Regions from separate parts of the Homo sapiens genome. Here region 1 is linked to region 2. The links are contacts of gene promoters, found by promoter capture Hi-C in blood cells and fetal thymus (Javierre and others, 2016). All regions are on one chromosome and are shown on one strand. Each heading gives the region's core, a stretch centred on a gene start or on the middle of the fragment in contact. The rest is flanking DNA. Distances are from core to core; before and after follow the strand shown.

Region 1 (4,386 bases), core at 171-2,670, 980 kb after region 2:
AGTGGACTCTTGCTTCTCACCCAATTCTCCAACTTGTGTTTACCAAGAATTGGAGTCAGTTTTTTACCTGTTGTTCCTATTCATAAAATGAAATTAATGTTTATTTAACATATTGAAATGAAGCATATGAATAATTTAGAAGCACTTTACCAAAAAGTACATTTTAACATTACCTTGCTTCTGGGCTATAGCTTATGACTACTATAAATGAGAGGTATAGTGGCATGCTCTCTACACCAGGCATTGCATCTTAGAAGGTAAGAATGATAATGAGGCCCCTCCTATACATGAGAACACGGAGGATGGGAGATGTTAAATAACTTGGTTAAGATCTACAGCTCATAAATAGAAGTTGACCCTAGGGCTATTAGATGCCAAAGTCCACACTGATAAACCGGGCAGAAAGAAAGAGGCTTTTAGACAAAGAAAAAATAAAATAACATGTAATAGTTGATTAGTGCTCTAAGTTGTATTACACAAAATGTGCTGATAGTCCAAAAATATAACTAAGAAGAGTTGGATAAACTGAAAGTGTCCATGAACTTCTAAGGCTTGGAAATGGGATGGCCAAAACCCAAGCACAGAATTGTCTGCCTTCTATGTCAGAGATTTTTACAGTACCTACTCTGTCATTTAAAATTATATTGTTTCCCAGACTTCACACTGACAGGATTTTATAACATTATGCACATTTAAAATATTACTTATAATAGAATTGTTACATTCATTTATTTTGAGATGATTTTACCTTTGTAATTCTATTTTCCAAGTACACATTTAAGTCAACAATTTGGTTCCTATAAATTATATCCACTCTGTCTACAATTCCCCATCCAACTTGGGTGGTTGGTAATTACAACTCAGTCACTATAAGAACAACTTCCTCTTACCAAAATTTTTACAAATTTGTGGAGTGTGTCCAGCCAGAAATCAACAAAAAAATATATATTATTACAACCACTGACCATTTTCGCTTCAAAATTTTAATGTTATTTTTGTATAATTTACGTCAAAGAAAATGTACTCCTTTTAAGAATACAAGTTGATAACTAATGATACATGGCTATTCTAGTATAATAACATCCTAGTGAATAGGCAAACCGATTTTGTCACCCCAGAAAGTTTTGTCACGCCCATTGTTATCAATCTCCTTCCACTTCCTCCTCAGATAAGTAGTCATCGAATTTCTATCACTGTACGTTAGTTTTTCCTAATCTAGAACTTTATATAATTGGAATCACAGGGTATGTGTTCCTTCCTATATGGCTTCTTTCACTCATAATTGAAACATATTTTTTTCATCCATGTTATTGCATATATTAGTAATTTTTCCCTTTCATGACTGAATAGCATTTCAGTGTACATGTATAGCACAAATTGTTATTTTATGCTCTGGAATTGGATATTTATTTGTTTCCAGTTTTTGACATCTTCATTTTTGAGGAAACAGTGGGCCCTTGCAATCTAGTGGCTCAGTGTTTAGCTTTCCATGACATGAGACTCAAGGCTTATGGTTCTACATTCCCAGATATATGGTCTAGTCATGGCTTCTGTTTCTGGGATGTCACTCTGACATGCTTCAACTCAGTGGTTCATGGCTCTGGCTGTGGGCGAAACCCTCATGTGAAATACTTTAGTTAATAGAAAAAAAATTGAATCATTTAAAAGTACATGATGGGAAGATAAGTAATACACAGGCAATTTCTGCTTTCTTCCATGCTACAAATCCTCCCAGTGGCAAGGAGCACAAGTTTGTGCTGCCATCGGATTAAGTCATTGGCAAAGTAAAGATAAAACACCATGAGAGGTTGGGCATGGTGGCTCACATCTATAATCCCAGCACTTTGGGAGGCCAAGGTGGCCAGATTACGAGGTCAGGAGTTTGAGACCAGTCTGGTGAACATAGTGAAACCCCATCTCTAGTAAAAATACAAAAAATTAGCCAGGTGTGGTGGTGCCTGTAATTCCAGCTACTTGGGAGGCTGAGGCAGGAGAATCACATGAACCCGGGAGGCGGAGATGGCACCATTGCACTCCAGTGGGGTGACAGTGCGAGACTCTGTCAAAAAATAAAAAATAAAAAAAAAAAACGATGTCCTCCTACACAGTGAGTTCTAGTCAAACCCAAACACATTTAACCCTTCACCTAGAGCACAGAAAATAAAACTGGTAGCCCACATGTCAAAAGGTGGATGTTTTTCTAACTCTGGGTCTTTAATCTCCAAAAATATTAAGGTAACAAATCAGGAGAATTTTTGGTAAAGAATTTGATAAACGTAACATACCGTGTGCATTTTGCAATTAGCCCACCTTTCATCAAATAGATTTATAAAATAAATTAGCCACATTGAGTTTGTTTCTGGGATAAGCAATTGAACATGTGATTGCAAAGGCAGAGACCTTTTCTGGCCTTCCCTGGCTCCTCTGTCTAAAGTTCATGAGTCCTGCAATATTTTGTCTCCTACTTTGCCAATTTTTTTTTTATCATTCTCATCACTTGCTACATTTGAACAGTCTGAATATTCCAGTTACATATTACATACCAGGTGTATTAGTCTGTTCTCATGCTGCTAATAAAGACATACCCAAGACTGGGTATTTATAAAGAAAAAAAGAGGTTTAATGGGCTCATAGTTCCACATGGCTGGGGAAGCCTCACAATCATGGTGGAAGGCAAAAGAGGAGCAAGGACACATCTTCCATGGAAGCAGACAAAAAGGCATGTGCAGGGGAACTCCCCTTTATGAAGCCATCAGATCTCATGAGACTTTTTCACTATCATGAGAACAACATGGGAAAAACCCACCTCCATGATTCAATTACCTCCCACCAGGTGCCTCCCATGACACCAGGGGATTATTACAATTTAAGGTGAGGTTTTGGTGGGGACACAGAGCCAAACTCTGTCATTCTGCCCCTGGCCTCTCCTAAATGTCATGTGCTCACATTTCAAAACCAATCCTGCCTTCCAACTGTTCCTCAAAGTCTTCACTCATTCCAGCATTAACCCAAAAGTCCAAGTCCAAAGTCTTCTCTAAGACAAGGCAAGTCCCTTCCACCTATGAGCCTGTAAAATCAAAAGCAAGTTAGTTACTTCCTAGATACAACGGGGATACAGGCATTGGGTAAATACACCCATTCCAAATGGGAGAAATTGGCCAAAGGAAGGGGCTACATTCCCCATGCGAGTCCAATATCCAGTAGGGCAGCCAAATCTTAAAGCTTCAAAATGATCTTTGACTCCATGTCTCATATCTCGGTCATGCTGATGCAAGAGTCGGGGTCCCATGGCCTTGGGCAGCTCCACCCTCGTGGCTTTGCAGTGTACAGCATCCCTCCTAGCTGCTTTCATGGGTTGGCATTGAGTGCCTGAGTATTCCAGGTGCATGGTGCAAGCCGTTTGTGGATCTACCATTTTAGGATCTGGAGGATGGTGGCCCTTTTCTCATGGCTCCACTAGGCAGTGCCCCAGTGAGGACTCTGTGTGGGAGCTCACACCCCACATTTCCCTTCTGCATTGCCCTAGTAGAAGTTCTTCATGAGGGTCCCACCCCTGCAGCAAACTTCTGCCTGGACATACAAGCATTTCCATACATCCTCTGAAATCTAGACAGAGGTTCCCAAACCTCAATTCTTGACTTCTGTGCCCCTACAGGCTCCACACCACATGGAAGCTGCCAAGGCTTGGGGCTTGCACCCTTTGAAGTCACAGCCCAAGCTATTTCTTGGCCCCTTTTAGCCATGGCTTCAGTGGCCCGGGAAGAAGGGCACTAAGCCTTTAGGCTGCATACAGCAGAAGGGCCCTCGGCTTACCTCATGAAAACATTTTTTTCCCTCTTAGGTCTCCAGTCCTGTGATAGGAGGGGCTGCCTGGAAGGTCTCTGACATACTCTGGAGACATATTCCCCATTGTCTTGGAGATTAATGTCTTAGAGATTAACATTTGGCTCCTCGTTACTTCTGCAAATTTCTACAGTTGGCTTGAATTTCTCCTTAGAAAGTGGGTTTTGCTTTCCCAGCACATCATCTGGCTGCGAATGTTTCAAACTTTTATGCTCTGCTTCCCTTTTAAACATAAGTTCCAATTCCAAACCATATCTTTGCAAATACATAAAAATGAATGCTTTTAACAGCACCCAAATCACTTCTGGAATGCTTTGCTGCTTAGAAATTTCTTCTGCCAGATGCCCTAAATCATCTCTCTCAAGTTCAAAGTTCCACAGATCTCTAGGGCAGGGGCAAGATGCCACCACTCTCTTCACTAAAACGCAGCAACAGTCACTTTTATTCCACTTCCCAACAAGTTCCTATCTTCATTCGAGATGAGCAGCATTTAGTCAAAGCCATTCAACAAGTCTCTAGAAAGTTCCAGATTCTATTTTCCTA
Region 2 (4,049 bases), core at 1,167-3,666:
CACTATTTTTAAATCAGAAATACTTGATCTATATTTAGATTTCAAAAAGTTTACAATTGAAAAAGTATACACATAACCCAAATTTTCCAAATAGAAGTATCTAGTAACTTGAATCAAATATCAGTTTTTAAATTAAAGTTAATTAAAATTAATAAAATTAAAATTCAGTTATTTGGTTGTACTAGCCACATTCCAATGACTCATCTGGCTATCACAGTTGGACAGCACAGTTGTAAAGTAAGTGTGTAAGTATCTTTGGGTCAAATCTCTAGCCTGGACTTAAGAAAAATTAAATCAGCAAACAGGTTGATCATGGAGTACTGATAGTACACATTATGGATTACCTTCAAATTCTTCATTGTTGGTCCATATCCACTCAGACAAGATGTAGCTGAGAGGAAATAGTGAGGGTATTTGGAAAAGATACTTCAATTAGCAAAGAGACTGAGGTTAATTGGGGAAAGCTTAGAGTTCATGATACGAAAGCAAAAGTTTGTTAATACTGATTCACCATTCTTGTCCCCATTACTGAGGTAAATAAACAGAGTCAAGTGGTGGACAGGTTCTGAACAGAACTGATAGTGTCTGGTTATGATGGGGATAGCTAGTTATCTTACTTTCTCACTGCACTCATCAAAAAAACACCACCCACCATGAACAAAATCCAAAATTATAAAATACAACTTGTATTTTTCCAAAAATTACAAGTTTCTTTTGATCTACTTTGGCAAAAGTATAGACATGCTTCTTTGACAAACATGTCTATACTTACTGACAAAGTCATAAGTAACAATCTGTAAGATCAATCTGATCATTACATTTTAAAGAGCATATTTCATAATTACTTCCTATTTTATGGGAGAGTTCCTCCAAGAATATCCAGCAAGGATGCACCATTCCTCCAGAATATTCCACCATTTATTTACCAAATCTTTTTTGTCTGTTACATTCTAGGCACTGTGTTATTCACAACAGTAAACAAGAAAAGCCCCACCCACATAAAATATGTGGGAAGTGCTGTCAGAGGAAAGGCCGTGATGAGAGCTCGCTGAAGTAGGCTTGCAGATTTAGTAAACAAAAATTTTTATTTTTTTAAATTTAGCAAATAAACATATGGATACCAAATATTCCATTGGACAGATTAAAAATTATTTGCTTTTTATCTGAACTTCAAATTTAACTGAGCGTCCTGTTTTTATCTGGCAAACCTACAGGGAAGGGAATACTTGGAAGTGGAGGGAGGGTGAATGGAGATAATTTTGGAAGCCTTCCTTTAGAAAGGAATTTCTAAAAATGAATGCTAGGCATAGCGGAGAAGCAGGGAGGAAACACAGCAATGCAAACTGACTTCCCAGTAGCCACTGTAGAGTTCAGGAACTGAAAGAAGCAAAGGGAATGGGGTAAGGAAGAAGAAATGTGGGTATAATGTCGAGAGATGAAGGTTGAGGGAAAAGTAGGTGCCTTATTTTTCAGGTTCGATAAGGAGTTTGTACTGTATCACCAGTGGTGAGATTCCACTAAAAAACTTTAAGCAGCTCATTTTGGCTACAACGTGAAGAATGAACTACAGTCCGGCAGACAGGATGTTGGGAGACCAGCTAGGAGGCTACTGATGGAATTCAGGTGAGTCCACAGAGGCCTGGACAGAGGCAGCGGGAAGAAAGGTGCACTAATCACAAACACCTGAACGTGAGACGGCAGAAAATAAGCAACTGCAAACTTGAATATAGAGGAGGACTGGGAGAGAAGAAAGCAGAAGCACATATTTGGGGAAACAGTGAAGAATGGTAAAAAAAAAAAAAAAAAAAAAAAAAAATTCAAATGTCTTCTGGGAAGTATATAGTATGATAAGGACTAAGAAGTGACTCCTAGATTTAGCCATAAGGAAGTCACCAGCGACCTTTGGCACGGGCAGCCTTAGAGGAATGGCTGAGGCCAATTAGGTCGCAGCTGGTCGAGGAGAAGGTGATGCTGGCCTAAGAACCCGACTGGAGCAGCACAAGTTTCCTACTTCTTCTTTGCCCTTTTAACAGGTGAGGGTCAAGGACAAGAGACGAGTTTGGAGATGCAGCGGCCAGTGCCCCAATCAGTTGGAACAGCGCAGCAAGCGGATCTCTAGGGGCCAATCCCTTCCTAGAGTCCACTTGACTGACAGAGCTGCGCGCCACAGACGGGGCACAGACAGGGAGGTGAATCACGAGGGGGCGGAATTCCAGGGCACTAACCCGGAACCGGTTTGGGACTTGATTCCCATTGTGAGGCCAGGCCTAGGGCGGGCTCTCAGCCAGAATGGCTACACCATTCTAACCAATGGATGAGACTCATCAAATGAGCGGCAGCCATATGAGCCATTGGGGTGGCGGGAGATGGGCGGGCCCAGTTAGTGGGCGGGGGATCAATGAAGCATCTTTTTTCCTACCCCCCTTGGGGCGACCGTGGGGAGGTGCCGCCGGGGTCGCAGGTGAGCGGTTCTATGCTGGAGGAGGCGGCCAGGGAAGCGGCGGCTCCGTGACCAGTGGGTGCCCTCGCAGTGGGTAGGGTCCCGGAGGGGTCAGCGGCAATTGGCGCAACGCTTGCTGCCGGGTTTGGTCCAAGGGCTGCGACGTAGCGGGACTGCACGCTCGGGAGAAGTGCCACGCGCGTCTGTCGCCTGACCGGGGAGGCTGGGGAGGGCCCAGGCCACGGAAACAAGACTGCAGAAGTTTCTGGGCACTCAGTCGGGACTCTCATTTAATACCCAGAGAGAGGAGATCTTCCAGGTTGCCCCGACTCCCACCGGGACTCCTACCAGCAGCAACCTCATCATTGTGGCCGAGGCAGGTGCGCGCCCCTGCTCCCCTGGGTGGCCTTCCGGGAGCCCAGTCTAACTCGATTCTTCCCAGGGGCTCTTTTTGGACGGTCCCAAAGGAGGCAGCGGGAGGGAGGTGAAAGATACTTTGATAACCGTCGACCCATAAGTATACTTGTTATGCACCTACCACGAGTTTTAGAGAAGAACATACTTTTTGGCAGGGAAGTGAATCCCCTATAAGAATATAGGGGAGGGGAAAGCCACACTTTAAAGAGAATTTGGGTAGGGTTTGATATTGTAGATTTGTGATGCTTTTCTTCTTGAACTGCTTAACTAATTTACCCTCAAATTTTTTTGATCCGGAACTTGCCGTCTGGTTTTTCTCAGACTTCTTAATTCTGACTTATCATGAAGTATCTAGGAACTTCATTCTCAAGTTTTAGTGCTTGTAAAAAGTTGCCTGGTTATATTATGCCATTGGCAGTACATCATCTTCACAAGGATTACGTAAGTGAACTACATCTCATTCCTGTTTCCAACTAGTGAAGAACGATTGTGAAATGGGATTTTAGAAAATGGCTGTTCTCTGTGATTGGGCATAGAAGGTTTGTAAGTTTTAGAGACTGCAGCTGTTGAATCCTTTCTGCTAAGAGAGCGATGACAGGCAATAGAAAAGGGATAGTGTTTGACATCTAAAATGACATATTTTCACATTTTATGAGGTGTTATATCCCCAGCACCAAAAATAGTGCCTTTCACACAGTAGGAGCTCAGTAAGTATTTTTTGAGGAAATTATTGGGGAATGAATGGATGGTAGAAAACCCAAGCTTCTGTTACTTGGATACCGGCATATAAAGGAGAGGACAGGAAGACAAACATTTCTGGAAATGGCTTTTATCCAGGTAAGCATATCTACAGAACTTCAACAACTCAAGATGCATCAATGCTGGCACTTTCTTGCACTTAATCAGAAAATATCAAGGTTTTAGAAGAAGATTTTCACACAATTAAGCCAAGACTGGGTATCTAAGGTGCATCCCAATATCAATTTCAGTCAGGTTAAAAATGTATTAAAGCCCATTTGATTAAATGAAATAGTTCATCAGTTCAGAATAGATCAGTCAGGACAACGGGATACCACTTTGTAAGTTAGAGATATGGAGTTAGGAATTGTTGGTCAAAAATAGGCCCTGCAAATAGCAACAGCTGCTGTCAAACTTTAAAAATATATTGACTCAGTGGTACTTCAAAAGGACT

What was found. Contacts are between HindIII fragments. The CHiCAGO score rates a contact against its expected background, and 5 or more counts as called.
Region 1: a contact is called between a fragment that was not itself captured here and the fragment with the promoter of MSANTD4 in region 2, in 1 of 17 cell types (non-activated CD4 T cells). The highest score is 7.4, in non-activated CD4 T cells.

Annotation. Positions count from the first base shown.
Region 1 is chr11:105,036,882-105,041,267 of GRCh38, reverse strand. No RefSeq gene overlaps it. Among named protein-coding and RNA genes, the nearest start is that of CASP1, 3.9 kb to the right of the region's middle. The HindIII fragment of the contact is 3,609 bases long and covers 1-3,224 here.
Region 2 is chr11:106,020,607-106,024,655 of GRCh38, reverse strand. It overlaps MSANTD4 (Myb/SANT DNA binding domain containing 4 with coiled-coils), which reads left to right and starts at 2,416. Exons shown (of 3, transcript NM_032424.3): 1 at 2,416-3,694. RefSeq lists enhancers at 1,875-1,944, 2,775-2,894 and a silencer at 2,335-2,444. The HindIII fragment of the contact is 3,155 bases long and covers 467-3,621 here.